Regions from separate parts of the Homo sapiens genome. Here regions 2, 3, 4, 5, 6 and 7 are each linked to region 1. Evidence: promoter capture Hi-C in 16 types of primary human blood cells and fetal thymus (Javierre and others, 2016). All regions are on one chromosome and are shown on one strand. The core of a region is centred on a gene start or on the middle of the fragment in contact, and the rest is flanking DNA. Distances in the headings are between cores, read along the strand shown.

Region 1 (3,362 bases), core at 1-2,500:
AAGGAAAACCTAGAGCTAACAGGGTGGCCTATCAGGATGCGCCCAGTCACGCTTGTCAAGAGTTAAAGCAGCTGCCACCTAACCCCATGACGAGGACGGGGCTATCCGCTAGGACCTGCCGCCCCGCGCTCGCCCGCTGAGTCGATGGACCAGCGGACCGAGTCCGGGTCCCCATGCCATTCGGGCACCCTCTGGGCGGGCCCTACCGGTCCGCGACGCCGCGCCCCTGGTGAAGGGGCCGCTGCCCCACGCCGTCAAGGGCAGGGTGCTGGGGCGACGGCAGCGGGTATGGGGTCAGCGCGCCATCCCCGCGCACGGACCTGCCGCTCCTCGGCCTGTATCCCGTACTCCTCGCGCATCCGCAGCAGCGCGTCCTCCAGCCGCGCGCGCAGCTGCTCCAACCCGAGCGCCTCGCGCCGCAGCGCCTCTGCCTCCTGCGCGCACAGCCGCGTCTCTTCCTCCGCCTGGAGTCTGCTCTCCTGGCCGCGCCGCAGCGCCTCCTCCAGCTCGCGCACCTCGTCCTCGTACAGCTGCACCGTCTCCCGCCACGACTCGGCCACCAGCAGTGCGTAGCTGTCGTGCACCTCCCGCAGGCGTGGCGGCGGCGCGGCGGGGCCGGTGGCGCGGGCGCGGAAATGCATGGTAAGGCTGGCGGCGCGCGCGCGCAGCTCCCTCACGTCGCGTTCGTGGGCCGCGTCGAGGCCTCGGCGCTCGGCCTGCAGCCGGCCCAGCAGCGCCTCGAGGGCGGCGCGCGCGCCCAGCGCCTCCTGCAGCTCGCGCTGCTGCGCACCCAGCTCGGCGTCCAGGCGGCCGCGGGCGGCGCGCTCCTCCGCATCCAGGCGCTGCAGCTCCCGCAGCTCGCGCCGCAGAGCGTCCCGCTCGCCCTCCGCCAGCGCAGTGGCCCAGCTCAGCTCGTCCAGCTGCTGCCGCAAGCTGCGCGCCTCCTCGGCGCAGCGGGCCTGCCCCTCGGCCCACAGGCCCTCTCGCCCGCGCCGGCCGCGCAGCTCCTCCTCCAGGAGTAGGTTTTCGCGCTCCAGCTCCCGCACCCGACACACGTAGTCATAGAGCCGGGCGTTGAGCTCCTGGAGCTCGGCCTTCTCGGGGCCCGTCTGCAGCCGCCAGGACAGCATCTTGCCGGGCGTGCGGGGTTCTCGCGGCTGGCCGGCTCCCTCCTGCCCTGGTCTTGTCCCGGTCTCGTCCTCTCCGCCGCGACGCTCCGGCCTCGCCGCTGCCCCGGAGGCCCGCAGACTGGGACGCGAGCGGGAGAGCCCAGGCACTTAGCGGACGGGGCGGGCAGACTGGGCGGGCGGCCTGGGCGAGGGCCGCGGCCTCCAGCCAATCAGAGCGCGGCCCGGCGCGGCCTCTGCGGCCGCACAGCGCCCCCTGCCGCACCTTGGCGGCCGCAGGTGGTCGGTGCGGGCAGTCGGGTAACAGCGGGCGGGGTGGCGGGCTAGCCAGGCCGGGCTCAGCGAAGGGACGCCGGAGAGGGCGTCCGGGAGCATACGAGTGTCCTGGCCTTGGTGGATGGAAATAGAAGCCTATTGAGTTGCTGTGGTGCTGGCGATTTTGGAGCGACTTCTTACCCGAGGCCCTGGAGATTGGTGGCTTTTCTATTTTTAAAAAAACGATATGGGCCGGGCGCGGTGGCTCAGGCCTATAATCCCAGCATTTTGGGAAGCCGAGGTGGGAGGCTCGCTTGAGCCCAGGAGTTCGAGACCAGCCTGAGCAACATAGAGAGACCCTGTCTCTACCAAAAAAAAAAAAAAAAAAAAAATATATATATATATATATATATATGGAGCCTGGCGTGGTGGTGTCACACGCGCTGCTTGGGAGGCTGAGGCGGGAGGATTACTCGAACCCAGGAGTTCAGGGCTGCAGTGAACCTGATTGTGGCACTGCGCTCCAGCCTGGGCAACAGAGAGAGGCCTCATCTCATATATATACATTACACATACATGTGCATTAATTTTTTTTTTTTTTTTTTTGAGACAGAGTGTCGCTCTTGTTGCCCAGGCTGGAGTGCAATGGCACGATCTCGGCTCACCACAGCCTCCGCCTCCCGGGTTCAAGCGATTCTCCTGCCTCAGCCTCCCGAGTAACCGGGATTACAGGCCAGCGCCACCACGCCTGGCTAATTTTTTTTTTTTTTTTTTTTTTTTTTTTTTGTATTTTTGGTAGAGACGGGGTTTCTCCATGTTGGTCAGGCTGGTCTCGAACTCACGACCTCAGGTGATCCGCCCACCTCGGCCTCCCAAAGTCCTGGGATTACTGGCGTGAGCTACCGTGCCCAGCCTAAATAATCTTTTTAACTTAAAACATAAATATATATCCATTTACCAGTATTTTAATGTGCAAAATACTTCTCTTGATGTCAGTTGACAGGAGTCCCAGTTGCCCTTCTTATACAAGCTACCCTCATAGTACATTACATTTTCCAAAACGAATTTCTTTCATTTGGAGTGAAAACTTAGAGACCATAAAGTGCTCCAAGTACAGAACTTTCTAGACATCTAACATCTCCCCGAACTTTTACAAATCTCACACACACACCCCTAATGTGACAGCTGTTTCTTTCCAGCATTTCCCTAAGAAAGTATTCAGTTTAATTGCCATGGAAACCACAGCTCTTTTTTGTACACTTGCATTTCATTAGTTTTCATGGCAGTTATTTATGAATGACAGTTCTCAGTATAAGTGTCATTAAGGCTCACAGGGACAAACCAGCTGACCCTTGGTTGGGGTGCCCTTGAACTTGTGGCAACACAAGTGCCCAGGGCGAGACCTGGACGGTCATCCACTGGCCAGAGGGCTCCTCATGGCAGGGCCAGCAGTTAGTGTATTTTACAGATGGCATGGAAAGGTGGACTACTCAGCAAGCTGGTCCAGGGCCTCTGACAAAGCTTCTAGTGCTCTCCTTGTCACAGCCATGAGCCTCCAATCACAAGCAAGGCAGAAAGTGGCCCTTCCTTTTTCTAGAGACCCTATGTTGGAGATCCCATTCTGTAGGTGGTAGAAATTAATATCTTTCAATGAATAATTCCCTGTCCTTTTCTGCTAAAACTAAGTGGGGGTGGAAAGTGGGTTTATTCAGTGCTTGGGTTCATTCACCTTGGTGTGGGACAGGGGGATTTGGACCCCCATCACCCCATCATTGTCCATCCTCCCATTCCCCCAGGTGCACACTGACACCTGGCCTTTGCTTGTCAAACACCAGAGCTGCTGTGGTGTCATCGCCCAAACCTATGTGGAGACCCTGCCGGTCCTGGGCCCCTCTGGGACATTGGGGTGCGGGGGGGCGGCTCTCACAGTTGCCTGGACTCCGCTGCAGCTGTTTGTTCTCAGCTCTTTGACTCCCCACG
Region 2 (3,362 bases), core at 625-3,124, 660 kb before region 1:
CTCGACCTCGTGATCCGCACGCCTCGGCCTCCCAAAGTGCTGGGATTACAGGCATGAGCCACCGTGCCCAGCTGATGTGTCCATTTTATAGTGAACCTTTAGACAGGAAAAGGCCAACTCTCCTCAATGAGTATAAATGTTAGAGAAGTAAAGACTACATATATATACACACATATATGTATATATAAAAAATATATATACTATATAGAGAGTATATGTATAGTATATATATAAAAAATATACTATATAGAGAGTATATGTATAGTATATATATAGTATAGTGTATATAGAGTATATATAGTATATATAGTATATTTACTATATATACACTATATTAGTATATATAAGTACATATACTATATATACAGTATGTGTATATATTATATATACTACATATACAGTATATGTATATATAATATATACTACATATACAGCATATGTATATATATTATATATACTACATATATAGTGTATGTGTATATATATTATATATATACATCCCATCCTCACAGCCATGTCATAAAGGATACGAGAGTAGGCAATGTCTACGGTACCAAAGTACAATTCCAAATTTCTGAAGTACATTCAAAATAAAATACAATATAATTTATGCAGGTAAAGCTTTGTGATTCAGACCACATTTGTGGAAAGAGCATTGCTTTCGAGACATGACCTTGGCTGGTTATCCATGGGACTAGCCATAGTGAAGTCCTTCGTTAGTGAAGTAATAGTGTAACATAATATGCACGATCTACTGTATTTTTCAACATACTCAAAGCAATTTTCTCATTTCAGTAAGTTATGCAGCATTTATTTAGCTATGATCATTATATTACTTGCCAAGATAATGTAAATATGAAGAATACCTAACAGGTATTTTAATTAAACATTTTGTAATTTTAAGTCAATAAAAGCAATGTAGGCAGTGGTTGAGCAGGTGGTCTCTGGCTCAACATCCCCTCTCCGCCATTTGCCAAAGAAGTGAACTTGAACAAGTCACTTAAACGCTCGATGCCTTAGTTTCTTCTACGTAAAATGAAATGATCCCAACAGAACCTGTCTCCTGAACATACTGTAAATATCGAATGGTTAACTGTATGATACAGTTAAAAAAATACCTGGCATATAGTAAGCACTATACAAATGTCATTTATTCATTTCCACACATGCTCATAAATAAACTCCTAGATTTCTGTAAAATGTGTAACTGTGCAGTGTTATCACTATTACCAGCCAAGCTTCTCTTCTGTCTCTACAACTGACTTAGTAAAGTTGTCTTCACATTAGAAAGGTTGCCTTACATTATTTTATTATGAAAGAAAGTTTAAAAGAAAGAAGGTTTGGAGTTTTTGTGGTAGGAGAGCAGCTACTTTTATATAGTTCAGTAAATCAATCTGTGCTGCTGAGCGTGAGCCTCAGAGGAGATAAACTTGGGGATGATTAGAAAGGAAAGAAGAATGCACTGGTGAATAACATTATCCAAACTGACTGTTGTGACTGAAGAGATCAACTCATTAGATAAATATCTTCTCTTTCCTGATATCTGTTTCTTTATATGACTATAAACTATCATTTTAGAGACCCACTTTATACAGTAGCTGATGTGTTGCCCAGTTTAAGAAGGCAGTTTTAGCCTCCAATAGGAATTCAGAAATAACTATAATTCTTCACTGTGCCTTCAAAGAACATTTAAAATAAGGTCCAGACGTATAACACAGCAAGAGTTATCAAGATTGGTTCTCACCTCCTCACCAGCTCTCCAGCTCTCAGCAATTCCACAAGCCTCGGAAAATCTCTTATGAATGTCACCCTTACCCTGTGCATTTTTCACCCAGGTACACCACTTCCTTCTTGTGTCATTCCCTCAATAAGTCGGCTCTTGCCAGGAAGTTTGTGTTCTCCTTCCACCATATTCTCTCCACTCTCAGTCCTTTTCGTGCCTGTTCACCTCACACAGGCCCTCCAGCTCTACCACCTACAAGGTTGAATGGTGAAGTGGAAGCCGTTCGTGGGCACTGAGATGGCAAAGAATTATCTTTTGTATCATTTTCTGTAAAAGGGAGGAGGTAGATTCCTGGTTTCTTAATGTCTCTTCAAACTCTGAAATACTCTGTCTGTTAATAACCAGAGAATTTGACCTTCTAAAACACAATGAAGAGGACCCTATGTGGGCTCCTCTTCCTTTCACTTCGTTGTTTCTTCAGTGTGCTGAAATCATCCTTATTTCGTCACAGGTCTGGGGGCTAGATTCCAGTCCAAGGGAATGACATATTTTCAGATAACTATTCTTAGGTTTTATAAAAGTGAGTAAAGTTATCAAAAACAGTAACACACCTTGTTTGTCTTTTATGCCTACAAAATGGCACCGTACATTAAAACCATGGCATTTATACTATGAGTTTAAATATATCTGGGGACTGCTTTTTTTGAGTGAAAACAAAAGATTTTGCTGAACGGTAAACCATCATATTATGTACCCTAGCAGGGTAGCATAACACAAGGGAAGCTTCAAAGCCCAAGATGGTTCACTGATTACCAACTCAATAACACTGTATAATAGCAAGAAGAAAATAAAAGATTTCTAAATACTAAATTCCTCCACTCCAATCTGGTGACGGGCAGGTACCAAGCAATATCATTTATCTATAGCGGTCTTAAATTCTTAAAGACCCGGAATATAGCCAGTAACAGTCATGCAATTATTTGCTTTCTGTTTCTTGCTGTATTTCATCTATAAAGTCTATAAGATCACTTAGCTTTTTGGAATTAATATGTCCATGCAAATGTCTCACGTAAAATAAAATAGGATATCATGATACTAAACAGGGTTTAAAAAAGAGCCCCTCTCCCCAAAAAGCATTTTATGTTAATTGTTCTATCTAAGCTTTTTATCTAATAGTTTTTAAAAGAAACATAATAGATGACTAAATATAAGAAGAGTTCCAAAGGCCATTTTCTATTTGAATCTTTCACATTTATTTAAATGCAGTTTTCTGTTTAATTTTAACTTGCATGAAATACAATTTATGTTGAAAAGGACTTGATCAATGTGTTCTTTCTTAGCTTGTACAAAGAAATTATGAATATATGCTAGACTACCTACACTGTTTACGGCCAGTGTTTTAATAACATATACTGGTCTGTGTTAACAAATATAGAAAAACTAACATTTTATCAAACGACAAAGTAAGATAGAAGATGTATTCTGGGTTCCATTTTAGTGAGTGAAAAACTGATTATTCAATCTGAAGTGGCAAATAGGATTAAGTTATTTTATTAGAAGAATGTTACATTTATCACTGTGTTTAATTGATTGTGGTGATCTGACATAAGTTTTTCTCTGACATCACCGTTTAATTTCA
Region 3 (3,362 bases), core at 484-2,983, 670 kb after region 1:
GACTTTGGAGAAGCCAGGGGCCCTGCTGCCTCTGCTCCTTGCCATTGGAGTTCAGCTGCAGGATCAGCCCTGGGCTGCCTGGTTACTTTGTTGACAGAAGAAGAGGGTTTTACCTTTTTAGGATGTAATAAAGCCCCTCCTGTGGCCTGATGAGGAGACTACCAACAGTCCCAAGTTCTGGGAATATATCGTCTGTTCCCTTGAGCAGTCAAAGGACACACATGGTGGGACCTGTTATTTATTCATCCATGCACCCAGCTGTCCATCTCTCTGTCCATCCATCCGTCTATCCATCCATCATCCATCCATCCACCTAACCATCCATCTATTCAATCCATTCATCATCCATCTATCCATCCCTCCATCCATCCATTCATCCATCTATCCATCCATCATCCGTCCATCCTCCATCCATCATCCATCCATCCATCCTCCATCCATCATCCATCCATCCATCCATCCATCCATCCTCCATCCATCTTCCATCCATCCATCCTCCATCCATCCATCTATCCATCCATCCACCCATCCATCCATCCATCCACCCATCCATCATCCATCCATCCATCCTCCATCTTCCATCCATCCATCCATCCATCCATCCTTCATCCAGCCATCCATCTATCCATACATTTATCATCCATCCATCCATCATCCATCCGTCCATCCTCCATCCATCCATTCATCCTCTATCCATCCATCATCCATCCATCCATCCATCCACCCATCCTCCATCCATCCATCCATCCTCCATCCGTCATCCATCCGTCCATCCATCCATCCATCCATTCTGTTGTACAACAGATATTCAGCATGCTTTCTCAGGGACATGCTCTGTGCTGGGGACAGGGGATATAAGTGAGGTATGGATACTGGCCTCAGGAAACTCTCTTCTCTTTGGAGGAATCTCTTCTGGAGTGTTCCACTGGAGTTTTCATCTCTCTTGCACCCATTACAAAGATGGAAGGGTCCAATTGACTAGAAATATAGTTTAGAGATTCATATGGAGACATCATGAAGCCTGCCTCCCCCCTGCCCCTTATACTTGGGCTCTCTGTGCAGGTGGCACAGACCATAAAAGGAGAGTGAAGTCTACAGCCTAGAGGGTGCCCTGTGTGTGGTGTCAGATGTAACCTTTCACATGGGATGTGTGTGCTGTGAGCATTGTGCTATTTGAGATGAATGGTTAGTATTTTGTGTTTACATGAAAATAAATGTTTAAAAATGTCTCAGGGGTTTGATGAAGTTACTATTCAATAAAAGAAACCTCTCAGGGAAGAACAGCTGATGTATTGATGGCTTTGTTTAAGGGCATATGTACTGACCACACAAGTTAGAAGGCAATGCCGTGGAACTGAGAGCAACCTCCTGCCCAGTCCATGCCAGCTGTGAGGCCGTGTGCAGGGGTCCCTTCCAGCAGTGTGTGCAGGACTGCCCATAATGCACATCTTTGTGTGTGTTGTGTTGTTTTTATTAAATCAATTTTATTTTTCGGTTTTCTGTGTTCCTGTCTCTTATTTTTTAACAGCTGTATTGAGATATTATTTACAAACCTTAAAGTTCCCTCATTTAAAGTAATAATTCAGGCCCGGCGAGGTGGCTTACACCTGTAATCCCAGCAATTTGGGAGGAAGAGGCATGTGGATAACTTGAGCTCAGGAGTTCAAGACCAGCCTGGCCAACGTGGTGAAACTCTGACTCTACAAAAATACAAAAATCAGCCGGGTGTGGTGGCCTGCGCCTATAGTCCCAGCTACTTGGGAGGCTGAGGTGGGAGGATTGCTTGAGCCCGGGAGGTTGAGGCTGCATCGAGTGGAGATCGTGCCATTGCACTACAGCCTGGGTGATAGAGTGAGACCTTGTCTCAAAAAAAAAAAAAGTAATAATGCAATGATTTTTAGTATATTTACAGAGCTGTGCCCTCATCACCACCATTAGTGCCCCAAAATGAAATACTGCGCCCATGAGTCTCTCACTCCCCACTTACCCCCTCCTCCTGCCCTCGGCAGCCACTAATCTATATATAAATTTGCCTCTTCCGGGTATGTCATGTAAGTGGAATCACACAATACGGGGTCTTTCACAGCTGGCATCTTTCACGTAGCATAATTTTTCCAAGGTTCATCCGTGTTGTGGTGCGTGTCATCAGTTCTTACTCCTTCTTATTGCCAAATAACGTCCCGTGGTATGGATGTAGAACACTGTATTTTGGCATTCGCTAGGTGATGTAATTTGGATTGATTTGAGGTTTTGGTAGTTATCAATGATGCTGCCATGAATATACACATACACAAATACAAGTTTATGGCCGGGCGCGGTGGCTCACGCCTGTAATCCCAGCACTTTGGGAGGCCAAGGCGGGTGGATCACGAGGTCAGGAGATCGAGACCATCCCGGCTAACACGGTGAAACCCCGTCTCTACTAAAAATACAAAAAAATTAGCCGGGCGTGCTGGCGGGCACCTGCAGTCCCAGCTACTCGGGAGGCTGAGGCAGGAGAATGGCATGAACCCGGGAGGTGGAGCTTGCAGTGAGCCGAGATCGTGCCACTGCACTCCAGCCTGGGCGACAGAGCAACACGCCGTCTCAAAAAAAAAAAAAAAAACAAAATACAAGTTTGTGTGTGTACATATGTTTTCAGTTCTCTTGGGTACACATCTGAGAGTGGAATTTCTGGGTCATATGGTAACTCTATGTTTAACATTTTGGGGAACTGCCAAATTATTTTTCCAAGTCCCTGCACCATTTTACATTCTTATCAGCCAGGTATGAGGGTTTCCGCTTCCCTCATCCCAGCCAACACTTATTCCATCTTTTTTTTTTTTTGAAACAAAGTCTCGCTCTTGTCCCCTAGGCTGGAGTGCAATGGCGTGATCTCAGCTCACGGCAACCTCCGCCTCCCAGGTTCAAGCGATTCTCCTGCCTCAGCCTCCCAAGTAGCTGGGATTACAGGCGCCTGACACCATGCCTGGCTAATTTTTTGTATTTTTAGTAAAGATGGGGTTTCACTATGTTAGCCAGGCTGGTCTCGAACTCCTGACCTCGTGATCTACCCACCTCGGTCTCCCAAAGTACTGGGATTACAGGCGTGAGCCACCGCGCCCGGGGCCTATTCCGTCTTTTTGATACAGCCACCATCCTAGTGGGTGGGAAGTGGCATCTTACCGTGGTGCTGATTTGCATTGCCCTGGTGACTACTGATGTCAAACAGCTTTTCAGTCATTTGTGTTATCTTCTTTGGAGAAATGTCTATTCAAATCCTCACTTATTTTTGAATTGCGTTGTTTTTATCTTGTTGATTTGTAAGAATTCTTTATAAATTCTGATTTTAATCCCTTTTTGGATATACGATTTGCAGTTTT
Region 4 (3,362 bases), core at 333-2,832, 650 kb after region 1:
ACATGATAGAATGTATTCACATAAGACTTGATGGCAGAGCCTGCTGCACTCCTAGGCTGTGGAGTATGGCCTGTCATCTCTAGGCTACAAACCTGTATAGCTCGTTACTGTACTCATTACTGGAGGCAATTGTAACATAATGGTATTTCTGTATCTAAACATATGTAAATATAGAAAAGGTACAGTAAAGAGATTTAAAAACAGTATGCTCGTGTAGAGTACTTACCGTGAGTGGAGCTGCAGGACTGGAAGTTTCTCTGGGTGATTCAGGGAGTGAGTGAGTGGTGAGTGAATGTGAAGGCCTAGGACAGTACTGTGCACTACTGTGCACTTTAGAAACACTGTACACGTAGGTTACACTAAATGTCTACTTTTTCCTTCAATAATAAATGAACTGTAGCTTACTGTAACCTTTTTACTTTACAAAAACTTTTTGATTTTTTTAACTTTTTGACTCTTTTGTAATAACACTTGGCTAAAACATAAATACATTATGCAGCTGCACATAAATATTTTCTTATTCTATAAGCTTTAATTAAAAAAAATTTTTTTTTAAGTTTAAAAATATTTCTTGCTGAAAGCAAAGAGACAAACACACTCCTTAGCCTAGGCCTACTCAGGGTGAGGATTGTCAATATCACTGTCTTCCACTTCCACATCTTGTCCCACTGGAAGGTCTCCAGGGGCAGTAACATGCGTGGAGCTATCATTTCCTAGGATAACTGCCTTCTTCTGGAATACCTCCTAGAGGACCTGCCTGAGGCTGCTTTACAGTTAATTTTGTTTTTATAATGAGTAGAAGGTGTACGCTCTAAAATGACAATACAAATATAGTATAGTAAATACATAAACCAGTATCAGTCATTTATTATCATTATTGGGTATTAGGTACTGTGCATAATTGTATGTGCTAGACTTTTTTTTTTTTTTTGGCAGAGGCTTGTTCTCTTGCCCAGGCTGGAGTGCAGTGGTGCAATCTCGGCTCACTGCAATCTCTGCCCCCTGGGTTCAAGCAATTCTCCTGCCTCAGCCTCCTGAGTAGCTGGGATTACAGGTGCATGCCACCACACCTGGCTAATTTTTTTTATATTTTTGGTAGAGATGGGGTTTCACTATGTTAGCCAGGCTGGTCTCAAACTCCTGACCTCAAGTGATCCTCCCACCTCGGCTTCCCAAAGTGCTGGGATTACAGGCATGAGCCACCATGCCCGCCTGTATGTGCTAGACTTTTATATGACTGGCAGTGTGGTAGGTGTGTTTACCCCAGCATCACCACAAACACATGAATAGCGTGTTGCATTACGACTTTATGATGCCTATGACTATCACTAGGCGACAGGAATTTTTCAGCTGTATTTTAATCTTATGGGATCTCCATTGCACATGTGGTCCATTGTTGACTGAAACGTCTTTATGAAGCACATTACTGTAGTTGGAATCCAATGGAATGTCATTGTTCAGTTAGCTTCTTTCACTTAGTAATATGCCCTTATGGTTTTTCTATATCTTTTTATAGTAATAACTCATTTCTTTTTAGTGCAGAATAATGTTACATTGACTGGATAAGCCACAGTTTATCCACTCACCGTCCGAAGTACATCCTGATTGCTTCTAAGTTCTAGTAATTATGAATAAATATTTGTGTGCAGATTTTTGTGTGAACATCGTTTTCAACTCCGTTGAGTAAATATCAAGGAGTGTGACTGCTGAATCACAAGGTAAGAGTATGTTTAGTTCTGTAAGAAACTGCCAAAATGCCTTCCAAAGTGGCTGCACCATTTTGTATTCTGACAAGCAATGAATGACAGTTCCTGTTGTTCCACATCCTCACCAGCATTTGTTGTTGTCTGTGTTAAAGAATTTGGCTATTCTAGGCCAGGTGTGGTGGCTCACACCTGTAATCCCAGCACTTTGGGAGGCCGAGGCAGGCGGATCACCTGAGGTCAGGAGTTCGAGACCAGCCTGACCAACATGGCGAAACCCTGTCTTTACTAAAAATACAAAAATTAGTTGGGCATGGTGGCACATGCCTGTAATCCCAGCTACTTGGGAGGCTGAGGCAGGAGAATCGCTTGAACCCAGGAGGCGGAGGTTGCAGTGAGCTGAGATCGCGCCATTGCATTCCAGCCTGGGCAATAAGAGCGAAACTCTGTCTCAAAAAAAAAATAATTTGGCTATTCTAATAGGTGTGTAGTGGCATCTCATTGTTTAAATTTGTGATTTCCTAATAGCATATGATGTGGAGCATCCTTTCATATGCTTAGTTGTAGAATTACAAAGAGGATTTTGATAGAGCCAGCATTGAGTTTACAGATCATTTTGGGAAGAATTATTGTAAGAATTGAGTCATCCAATCCATGCACATGGAATTTCTCTTCATTTATTTAGCTCTTCTTTAATTTCTCTCAACAATGTCTTGTAGTTTTTGGTGTTCAAGATTCTTTTGTTAAACATACTCTTAATTATTTACTTCTTTTTAATGCTATTGTAAATTAAATTGCATCTTTATTTAATATTAAAGCCTTTTAGTTTTGGAAGACTTCACAATTACAAGAACATTGCTCTCATCTTCTATATATTGAAATAATATAATTGCAAGCAAGTTGGTACTGTCATCTCAAGCGCATCAAGCTTGAAATCCCAAATATTTTATAGTTACTGTCTCAAGAGAAATGAACTTCCTTATTGGCTGTAGATTATTTATTTTTAAATTCATTTTTGGTATGAAATAGTAACTGCTTATTTAGCTAACAATTCTTTTGCTTGGCATTTTAGGCTGAGCTCAGCTGGGTGATTTTCTAGTCTAGCTGGGCTTGCTGTTTATCCATGGTAACCTGCCTGTCAGGTGGCTCTGCTGCTTGGGGCTGGCGAGACATTCCCTGGGACCGCAGCAGTGCGTGGGCCATATTCCTTTCATGGTAGCAGGTCACCCTGGGCTTGCTTTTGTGGTGTGTTGCAGGGATCTGAGAGAGAACACAGGTACACTGGACCCCAGGAGGCCTAGGCTTAGAGTGGTGGTGCTGTCACTCTGCCTCATTCTGTTGACCAAAGTGAGTCACAAGGCCAGCTGGAATTAGAGGTGAGGGGAAATTGATCCCATCTCTTGATGGGAGGAGCTTCAAAATCAGATGCAAAGGGGCATGGCCATAGGAAAGAAGTAATCGTGGCCATTTTTGCAAACAGTTCACCATGGCAGTGTGTATCTTTGCATTTCAGTCTGGCTGATTAGAATCGGAGTCATTTTTGTTTGTTTGGGAAATTACCCACTTCTGAATCTTGGCAGGGACAAATACCACCACTTCCAACAGAAGCTGAAAATGCTCCATATTTGTTTTCTTCTTCCATTGCATCTAGGTCATGGG
Region 5 (3,362 bases), core at 863-3,362, 630 kb before region 1:
CGCGCGGAGCGGGGTGTGGGCCTGTGACCCTCGAAGGCGTGGGCGGGGAGTAGGGGGTCGAGCTGGGGCCGCAGGCTGTCCCCGTACGGGCTGCTCCCCTGTGGCTCCGAAGCCACCTTTTTCTGAAGTTGTCAGCCCGCGTGTTTGAGATTTCGTTTCTGGAATCTCACGCGAACAATCTGGAGAGAGGAACAGGGGTCTTGCGGCTTTGGCTGTTGACTCAAGGGGAAAATAAAAACCAGACAATGGGGATGTAATGAATGCAAAGTGACCCGTGAGCAAACTGGACGCTTTTCTCCGGCTGACAGGCATGAGTTCTCCCCGTAGCTTGCCCCACATACTGTGAGTTAAACTGTGTCAAAGTAAGAGCAGTTTAGCCCCACAGTTCTGAGCAAGAGTCCTTAGCGCTGACCTTCTTAGTGAAGATACTTTGCAATGTGTAAAATATTGAATACAAAATTATTGTGCAAAGCTTCTGAGTTGAAGATTCTGAGTGCGCGGAGGCTGGCGGCAGCCCTTACTTGCCATTGCAAGGATCTCAACTTACTACTCTGAGAGCAAAAGTAGTTGTTTCTTTACAGATGTGGGTTTAGGGGAGACAGCTATGGATGAGGAACAGGGGCGGGGTTCGTTTTCTGCACAAAACGTATGCGATTAGAAAAAACAAAGGGTTTTTATTCTGCCTATCTTCTTCCATCTCAGCCAGCATAAGCACATTCTTTTTTTTCTGTTGATGATGTATGCTGAGTATTTGCAGCGATTAGGAAAAGGAATACTCTCTAACAAGACACTTCTCTTTAAACGAGGCGGTGGAGGGATGATTATGTCTTCTGTGGAATTAACCCTCCGGCTTGATTTTCAGTGAAGAAAATGAGGCACGAGGAATTGTTAACCAAGACCTTCCAAGGCCCAGCTGTTGTGTGTGGGACTCCGACCAGCCACGTATACATGTTTAAGAATGGCAGTGGGGACTCGGGGGACTCTTCTGAAGAAGAGTCTCACCGTGTGGTTTTGCGGCCCCGGGGCAAGGAGCGCCACAAGAGCGGTGTCCACCAGCCTCCCCAGGCGGGAGCAGGTGACGTGGTGCTGCTGCAGCGGGAGCTGGCCCAGGAGGACAGCCTCAACAAGCTGGCGCTGCAGTATGGCTGCAAAGTAAGACACCCCTCAGGGGCCCTGCCCCGCTCCGTTTCAAGGAACACGGGGAACTCACTGCAGGGTGGGTGCCCTTGCCGCCCTTCTTAACCCTGCCAGGCCGTCAGGAGAGGCCTGCTGTAGCAGCCAAGGACTCCCCTATTTAGCCAGAATTGGAATGCAGGTGGGAGTACCTTTAGTTCCCAACCCTGGCCCCCAAAGAGGGAGGGTTAGCGCATTTCTTTCTCTGCAGGGAACTTCTCCTTTTCCTGTTTTCTCCACACTGAAATTCTGAAACCTTTTTTCTTCTTTCGAGCACATTTTATTTTAGACCTAATGGGGCTGGAGATACCAGGCAGAATTTAATTCCGGATTTCTATGGTATGCTTGCTTTTCTCGCTGCTCTTATTTTTCTGAACCTTTCTTGGTGGTAGCTTACTTGACTTTTGGTAAAGTTTTACCTTCTCTCGTTTAGAACTGCATGGTCTTTTGTATGCTGTGTATCTATATAACCCTGTTTTTCTCTAATTATGTTTTCAGCATTCAGAGTGATTAACAATGGCAAAGTAAGTAGGAAAGTATTTCTAGAATTGCTGCATTTTCTCCTAGATTGCAACTGTTTCACTTTGCTAACACTGTGCTACAGATTTGTATGGCCTTCTCTAGGGGTATATAAGCTACTTAATTTAAGAAATCTCTTTCTCCTACAAGTGTCTTATCTAACAAGGTCCAAATGTCTGAAACATGTTGTGTGGGGTGTTGCGGTCTTTCAGGGAAATAAACAGGTTGGTCTCCGGGGACACATAGTGGTCTTTAAATTGTACTGACAATTATATTTGGCTCCGATAAGCAGCTTCTGCAGGCATACTGTGTGGCTTACAGAACATGGGCTGAAAAATGAAGCCTGTCCTACAAAGACCGGAATAGATGGAGTAGGCTTCTTGGTATGGTGATGTCTAAATCCGTAAAGAATATATAAAGCCTTTGATAAGTGATCAGTTTTCCTATTTGAAGTAAATAAATTTGCTCTTAATTTATTGAAGGCAGAGACAGAAAGATCTCAAGGGTCTCATGCATTAGATTCAGGACATAGTGAATTAAAAATGTCCCCTACCCCAAATCAGTTACAATAACAGCAGTTGCTGAATAATAATGGAAATGATTGATTTGATTGAGATCTGTTGGCTGTATTCACTTTCTAGTTTAAGTGGACTTAAGTGTTAAAAGTTTGGAGTTCATCTCTGATGCTTTTGGAAAGTTTTCAAACATTAGTTTGAGGGAGGGGTTACCCTTTGACTTACATTCTCCCTGCTTCTTAAATCTTCGTGTTTGATTATGAGAGGAGTTTGTCATGAACTTTGTTACTTGATAAAACTCACAGCATTATTCCTTTTTCCTGACAGTTAAGTACAGTAACTGTAAGTCACTTTTATTTAATAAGTTTACATGCCCCACAGTGTTTCTGGGAAAGAAAATGCCGAGGGCATATCTGTCAACTTTATTACAGGTAAACTGGATTTTGAGTGTGTCTGCAGAGCTGGCTGAGGCTGTGTGTTTGGTGAATGCTAACATCTGGCAGCCACTGAGTTCTGGCATGAGGGGGAAGGCAGGCAGATGGGGGCACTATTGCCTCAAAAGTGAAAGGTGGAAAAGGCTGCAACATTCCTTTCAGTGCCATGGTGGTTTCGCCCAAAGCGATTTGTTGCAGTCACACTTTAAACAGTTTAAGAAAGATCTGTTTTTCAAAACTGATCTTAAATTGTTCAAACCTGTAAATCTTTAGGAATATCTGATTACTAAACTATATATTGAGGTTGAGTGAAAGCCAAAAAAACAAAATTTCAGCCTAAACTAACTTTGTGTACAGCTGCAGTTTTCCAGTCTTCATCAGATTCGTCAGTGAAGTGGGCTTGAATCATCACCCAGAAAGATTAAGAGCCACTTTTTGGAAAGTTATTTTTAAGGAGCTCCGCATATTTTATGATGTTTATCTTCGTGCCTTCCTAGGTTGCAGATATCAAGAAAGTCAACAACTTCATCAGAGAACAAGACTTATATGCTTTGAAATCTGTTAAGATTCCAGTGAGAAACCATGGGATCCTGATGGAGACCCACAAAGAACTGAAACCCCTTCTGAGCCCGTCTTCCGAGACCACAGTGACCGTGGAACTGCCAGAGGCAGACAGAGCAGGCGCGGGCACCGGTGCCCAGGCCGGCCAACTGATGGGCTT
Region 6 (3,362 bases), core at 322-2,821, 610 kb after region 1:
TTAAATGACCAAGGAGTCAATGAAGAAACTATGAAGGAAATTTAAAAGTTTATTGAAACAAATGAAAATAGAAACACAACATACCAAAACCTTTGGGAGATAGCAAAAGCAGTTCCAAGAGGGAAGTTTATAGCAATAAACACCTACATCAAAAAAGTAAAAATATTTCAAATAACCCAACAATGCATCTCAAGGAACTAGAAAAGCAAGAACAAAACAAACTCAAAATAAGTAGGAGAAAAGAAATAATAAAGAGTAGAGCAGAAATAAAATAAATTGAGACTAAATAAAATACAAAAGATCAACAAATAAAAGTTAGTTTTTTTTTTAACAGATAAGATAAAAAGGCCGGATGCGGTGGCTCACGCCTGTAATCCCAGCACTTTGGGAGGCCGAGACGGGCGGATCACGAGGTTAGGAGATCGAGACCATCCTGGATAACACGGTGAAACCCCATCTCTACTAAAAATACAAAAAAATTAGCCGGGCGCGGTGGCGGGCGCCTGTGGTCCCAGTTACTCGGGAGCCTGAGGCAGGAGAATGGCGTGAACCCGGGAGGCGGAGCTTGCAGTGAGCCGAGATCGCGCCACTGCACTCCAGCCTGGGCGACAGAGCAAGACTCCGTCTCATAAAAAAAAAAAAAAAAAAAAAAAAAAAAAACCAAGAAAAAAATATCCAAATAAATAAAATCAGAAATGAAAAGGGACAATTACAACTGATACCACAGAAATACACGGGATCATTAGAGAATATTACAAACAACTTTACAACAAATTTGAAAAGCTAGCAGCAATATATGTATATTTCTGGACACATAGAACCTACCAAGATTGAACCAAATAAGAAAGAGAAAACTTAAAGAGACCTATCAAGGTTATTGTTGATAGGTGAGTAATGAGATTGAATCAGTAATAAAAAGTCTCTCATCAAAGAAGAGCCCAGGATCTGATGGCTTCACTGTTGAATTCTACCAAACATTTCAGGAATAACTAATACAAATTCTTCTCAAACTCTTTCAGAAAATTAAAGAGGAGGAAATTTTTCCAAACTCATTCTATGAGATCAGAATTACCCTGATATCATAACTAGTCAAAGACACAACAACAACAACAAAAAAGGGAAACTATAGGCCAATATCCTTGATGAACATAATTGTACATGTTCTCAACAAAATACTAGCAAACCAATTCAACAATGCATTAAATTGTTGTTCACCATGATCGAGTAGGATTCATCTCCCGGATGCAAAGATGGTTCAACATATGCAAATCAATAAATGTGATACATCAGTGGAATCAAGGATAAAAACCATATTAGCACCTCAAAAGACACAGAAAAAGTATTGGACAAAATTCAACATTGTCTCATGATAAAGCTCACAAGTTAGGTATAATAGGAACCTACCTCAACACAATAAAGCCCATATATGACACACCCCTAACCAACATCATACCAAATGTGGAAAATTTGAAAGCTTTACCTCTAAGATCTGGAGTAAGATAAAGATGCCTTCTTTTAACACTTTTATTTAACATGGTACTAGAAGACCTAGCTATAGCAACTATTCAAAAGAGAGAAAGAAGGGTCATCTAAGTTGGAAAGGAGGAAGTCAAATTGTCCCTGTTTGCAGATGGCATGATCTTATATATAGAAAACCATGAAAGCTTCACCAAAAAAGCTTTTAGAACTGATAAACCAATTCAGTGAAGTTGCAGGATACAAAAATCAACATAAAAATCAGTAGTATTTCAATACATCCATGACAAACTTGTGGAAAAAGAAATCGAGAAAGGAAATCCATTTACAGTAGACACACACACACATACAGAGACACACAGAAACTAGGAATAAATTTAACCAAGGAGGTCAAAGAGCTCCACAAGGGAAAACATAAAATACTGATGAAAAAATTGAAGAGGATACACAAAAAATAGACATTCCATGTGCATGGGTTGGATAAATTAATATTGTGAAAATGACCATACTACCAAAAGCAATCTATAGATTCAGTGTACTCTTTATCAAAATACCAATGGCATTCTTCACAGAAATAGAAAAAAATTCTAAAATTGATTTGGAACTACTAATGACTTCGAATAGCCAAAGCAATACTGAGCAAAAAGAACAAAGCTGGAGGCATCAAACTACTGGACTTCAATATATTCTACAAAGGTGTAGTAACCCAAACAACATGGTACTGTCATAAAAGCAGACATGTAGACCAATGCAACAGAATAGAGAACCCAGAAATAAACCGATATACTTACAGACAGTTGATTTTTGAAAAATGTACCAAGAACATTCATTGGGGGAAAGGACAGTCTCTTTAGTAAATGGTGCTCAGACAACTGGATATTTATAAGCAGAAGAATGAAACTAGTCCCCCTATTTGTCACCATATACAAAATTCAACTCAAAATAGATTAAAGACTTAAATGTAAGACCTGGAACTATGAAACTATTAATAGTAGAAGACAGCACAGAGGAAATGCTTCAGGACATTGCTCTGAGCAGATATTTTATGGAGAAGATCTCAAAAGCACAGGAAACAAAATCAAAATAAGGCAAGTGAGATTATACTGAACTAAAAATCTTCTGCACAGAAAAATAAACAACAGAATGAAGAGACAACTTGCAGAATCAAATAAAATATTTGGAAACTATTCATCCGACAAGAGATTAGCATCCAGAATATACAAGGGGCTCAAATAATTCAACAGCAAAAAAAAAAAAAAAAAAAAAAAAACAAATAATCCGATTAAAAAATGGGCAAATGAGCTGAATACAAATCTCTTAAAAGAAGACATACAAATGGCCAATAGATATATGAAAAAATGCTCAACACGACAAATCATCAGTGAAATGCAAATCAAAGCCACAGTAAGCTATCACCTCACCCCAGTTAGAACAGCTATTATGAAAAAGACAAAAAATAACATATGCTATGAGGTTGTGGAGAAAGGGGAATGTTTGTATGCTGTTGATGAGAATGTAAAGTAGTACAGCCATTATGGAGAACAGTATGGGGGCTCCTCAAAAATCTAAAAATAGAACTACTATATGGTCCAGCAATCCCACTTCTGAGTATATATCCAAAGGAAATAAAATCAGTATGTTGAAGAAATATCTGCACTCCCATATTTACTGTAGCATTCACAATGGCCAAGATATGGAATCAACTTAAGTGTCTATCAGCAGATGAATGGATAAAGACAATGTATATGCAATGGAATACTATTTAGACATAAAAAAGAACAAAATTCTGTAATTTGCAGCAACATGGATGAGCTTGGAGGACATTATGTCGAAATATGAAAAAAGCCAAAACAGAAAGATAAGTACCACATGTTCTCACTCATATG
Region 7 (3,362 bases), core at 248-2,747, 600 kb before region 1:
AGAGAATTAGTACTTTCTACATCTTTTTCAACTTCCTTCAAGCAGAAACCCACACTCACCAACTCCAATTCCTCTTCCTCCGACTGTACTCAGCACATAAGAGGGATAAGAGAGTTACTAAGACTGTTGGTACTCACAAACAAAATATTTCTTTAGAAAAAACATATTTGGACACTAGCAGCTGTCTGGAACTCTAAAGAGACGATTATATACACAACAGATAGAAATATAAATTACTTGTCTCTACTTGTTGAGTTTTCAAAAGACTAGAAAAATTATTTTAAATTCTCTAGGGCCAGTATTCAAAGACACCCTCCTACCCCAACTTGGTCTGCTCTCATGCTGGCCTCTTATACATAGTCATGCTACTGCAACAGTATTTAAAAGGGGTTCCTCATCATGCTATCGATCTGTATTTGGAACTGTGAGAATATCAACTCTGTACTTGTAACTCTGTATCTTAATCACCCTACTATTACCCCACCTGGTGATACATGTTATCTATCTCCTACTGAATTCTGCTTCTTGGCAGAAAGAAACTGCTGTATGTTTTATTTCCCGCAGGAGCTAGCAGTTATAAAACAACAGGAACACAAACATTTGTTAATAAATACATGAGTTTTAAATACCAGTTTTATATATGTTTATCATTTGCAAATATATTTTCATGTGAATAAAATGACTTCAATGGAGAAAAACCACATATTTGAAGAAAATGAGACTGAAGGAGAAATGAATTCATAAGTCATGTAAAGAAAAGAAATAAGGCTGGGCACGGTGGCTCACGTCAGGAGTTCAAGACCAGCCTGGCCAAGATGGTGAAACCTTGTCTCTACTAAAACTACAAAAATTAGCCAGGTGCGGTGGCAGGTGCCTATAATCCCAGCTACTCAGGAGACTGAGGCAGGAGAATTGCTTGAACCCGGGCGGCAGAGGTTACAGTGAGCTGAGATCACGCCACTGCACTCCAGCCTGGGTGACAGAGTGAGACTCCGTCCAAAAAAAAAAAAAAAAAGAAACATTTTTGCTCCTTTTCTCCATAACATTTAGAAAATATTAACATGCTAGAAACAGTCTAATCAGTTTTTACTTGTTTTACTTGAGTAAGTTAAGCTTCTCTGTCAGTCTGTGAAAAGTGTCATTGTAAGTGCCACTGATACATGAAGCCCTAATCTGGAAGAAGGTTTCTCTGTAAATGGTGTGTGTAAAGTAGGTGGGACCGATTACTTACTCTGAAAAACAATCACTTGATCTACAACTGCTATCTCCAATGTGGGCAAGATGCTATTCAACTGTTTTGTTATAGATATCTTTACATATCTCCAAACACAAGGTACACACCAAAATATACTGTCTAACATTATAGCTGTGTATGTGTAAAACATATGGTTTTCACTTTAATATACAGGAATAAGCGTGTAAATAGTTCATACGACACATTTTGAGTTTTCCATGGAGATCCTTCATGCTCTCCTAACAATCAGACATAACTTTATTAAGCAATTGCTAAAATGCTTAAATGGAGTTTGTCTCTAAATTGGCAGTTTACTAACAATTCTTGTAAACATTTCTGTACCCTACATGACATTTTGTAGAGTTTATTTCTGAAAGACAGTAGCAAGTATTGCATATCCAGTACCTGAAAGGTGAGCTATGGGACCATCCTAAATGCCATTTTTTCTTGGCTCCCTTTTGGGGTGTATTTCTTTGTTATGTATGTATGTATATATTTTAAACTATTTATTCTGAAATAATTTTAGACAGCATTTACAAAGAGAGCTCCCTCACATCTCACTCAGCTTTCCACATTGTTAACATCACAAGGAAATACAATGCAGTTGTCGAAACTAATAAAAATAATACAGCACCAATTAAAGCTTTGGACTTTACTTGGATTTCACCAGTCTTTCAACTGATGTCCTTTTTCCTGACCCAGGATCAGATCCTGGATCCCACAAGCCTTTAGTTCTCACATCTCCTTCGTCTCCTCTGCTCTGTGACAGTTCCTCAGTCTTTCCTTTTCATGACCTTGACAACTTGTTTTGCATGACCTTGACAACTTGTTTTGAAAGAGTGCTGATCAGTTATCTTATAGAATGTCTCTCAATTTGGGTCTGATTTTCATTCATAATCAGATAGAAGGGCATGGATTTTTGCAAGAATACCACAAAGAGACATGGCTTTCTTAGCATGTCATATTGGAAGGCACATGTTGTCTTTATGTCCCATTACTGGTGATGTTAACCTTGATCCTCCGGTTAAGGCAGTGTTTTCCAGGATTCTCTTATTTCTAATTCTCTAATTTTTCCCTTTGTAAGAAATGAATATTGGGGAAGAGACATTCTGAGACAAAGCAAAATAGCTTTTTACTTAAACTTTTTGCCCACTTATGTTAGCATTTATCCACTGACTTTGCCTGCAACAATTACCATTGTACTGTGGTGTTCTAATGCTGATTTACTCTCTCTCATTCTTTCTACATTTATTAATTAGTTATTTTCTAAGGAAGAGTTGTCCCTTTTTCCCCTTATTTATTCTATCATTTATTTATATCAGTAATGGACTCAATGTTTTTTATTCCCTGGGCTATAATCCAATACTATTGTTATTTTGTTACTCAAATTGTTCTAGTTTTGGCCACTGGAAACTCTTTTGAAAGGCCAGCTCCCGTGACTTTTGATACGCACTTTCTTAACCTCTGACAACCCCGGCTCATCCCGTTTCCCTGCCCCAGCTCTACAACAAACCATTTTTTTCCAAGCAGCCCTGAGTCCTTGTATTAGAAAATGGTGTTCTGAAACTAAAATCTGAGCACCAGGTATGTTCAGTTACTGGATGCTATTGCCTCACAGACCTCTCAGCAAACAGAGCTAGGAAATATATGATGTATACTAATTCATATGTACACACAACTGTACCTTTTTTGTGTGTGTGTGACAGGGTCTCGCTGTGTCAGCCAGGCTGGAGTGCAGTGGTACAATCATAGGCCACTGCAGCCTCGACTTCCTGGGCTCAAGCGATCCTCTCACCTCAGCCTCCCAAGTAGCTGGGACTATGGGGGCATCCTACCACACTCGACTAATTTTTGTATTTTTAGTAGAGACGGGGTTTCGCCATGTTGGCCAGGCTGGTCTCAAACTCCTGAGCTCAACATCTGCCCGCCTCAGCCTCCCGAAGTGCTGGGATTACAGGCACGAGCCACTGTGCCCAGCCAGACACATACGTACATATGTGTGTGTGTGTGTGTGTGTGTGTGTATATATACACACATATATACGTATGTGTCTGGCTGGGCACAGTGGCTCATGCCTGTAATCCCAGCACTTCGGGAGGCTGAGGCGGGCAGATGTTGAGCTCAGGAG

Evidence for each region. The method cuts DNA at HindIII sites, captures the fragments that hold promoters and counts their contacts. A CHiCAGO score of 5 or more calls a contact.
Region 2: a fragment that was not itself captured here is called in contact with the fragment with the promoter of SYNM in region 1 in 1 of 17 cell types (neutrophils); the score reaches 6.1 in neutrophils.
Region 3: a contact is called between a fragment that was not itself captured here and the fragment with the promoter of SYNM in region 1, in 1 of 17 cell types (M2 macrophages). The highest score is 5.5, in M2 macrophages.
Region 4: a fragment that was not itself captured here is called in contact with the fragment with the promoter of SYNM in region 1 in 4 of 17 cell types (megakaryocytes, M0 macrophages, erythroblasts and 1 more); the score reaches 6.0 in megakaryocytes.
Region 5: a fragment that was not itself captured here is called in contact with the fragment with the promoter of SYNM in region 1 in 1 of 17 cell types (endothelial precursors); the score reaches 5.7 in endothelial precursors.
Region 6: a contact is called between a fragment that was not itself captured here and the fragment with the promoter of SYNM in region 1, in 4 of 17 cell types (naive CD4 T cells, fetal thymus, naive CD8 T cells and 1 more). The highest score is 6.7, in naive CD4 T cells.
Region 7: a fragment that was not itself captured here is called in contact with the fragment with the promoter of SYNM in region 1 in 2 of 17 cell types (naive CD8 T cells and total CD8 T cells); the score reaches 5.3 in naive CD8 T cells.

The regions. Positions count from the first base shown.
Region 1 is chr15:99,102,968-99,106,329 of GRCh38, reverse strand. SYNM (synemin) reads right to left here and starts at 1,250. Exons shown (of 4, transcript NM_145728.3): 1 at 321-1,250. The coding sequence starts at 1,130. SYNM-AS1 (SYNM antisense RNA 1) reads left to right here and starts at 453. Exons shown (of 3, transcript NR_187219.1): 1 at 453-642. RefSeq lists silencers at 141-310, 591-1,500. The HindIII fragment of the contact is 5,074 bases long and covers 1-2,905 here.
Region 2 is chr15:99,765,659-99,769,020 of GRCh38, reverse strand. No RefSeq gene overlaps it. Among named protein-coding and RNA genes, the nearest start is that of LYSMD4, 34 kb to the right of the region's middle. The HindIII fragment of the contact is 1,268 bases long and covers 1,241-2,508 here.
Region 3 is chr15:98,435,079-98,438,440 of GRCh38, reverse strand. It overlaps the pseudogene FAM169BP. Among named protein-coding and RNA genes, the nearest start is that of LINC02351, 16 kb to the right of the region's middle. The HindIII fragment of the contact is 5,322 bases long and covers 1-3,362 here.
Region 4 is chr15:98,452,742-98,456,103 of GRCh38, reverse strand. It overlaps the pseudogene FAM169BP. Among named protein-coding and RNA genes, the nearest start is that of LINC02351, 33 kb to the right of the region's middle. The HindIII fragment of the contact is 2,102 bases long and covers 532-2,633 here.
Region 5 is chr15:99,729,508-99,732,869 of GRCh38, reverse strand. LYSMD4 (LysM domain containing 4) reads left to right here. Exons shown (of 3, transcript NM_001284417.2): 2 at 863-1,152; 3 at 3,139-3,362. The coding sequence starts at 871. Among named protein-coding and RNA genes, the nearest start is that of LYSMD4, 2.2 kb to the left of the region's middle. The HindIII fragment of the contact is 3,276 bases long and covers 475-3,362 here.
Region 6 is chr15:98,494,758-98,498,119 of GRCh38, reverse strand. It overlaps the pseudogene FAM169BP. Among named protein-coding and RNA genes, the nearest start is that of LINC02351, 75 kb to the right of the region's middle. The HindIII fragment of the contact is 190 bases long and covers 1,477-1,666 here.
Region 7 is chr15:99,700,083-99,703,444 of GRCh38, reverse strand. MEF2A (myocyte enhancer factor 2A) reads right to left here. Exons shown (of 12, transcript NM_001319206.4): 9 at 60-83. Among named protein-coding and RNA genes, the nearest start is that of LYSMD4, 32 kb to the left of the region's middle. The HindIII fragment of the contact is 764 bases long and covers 1,116-1,879 here.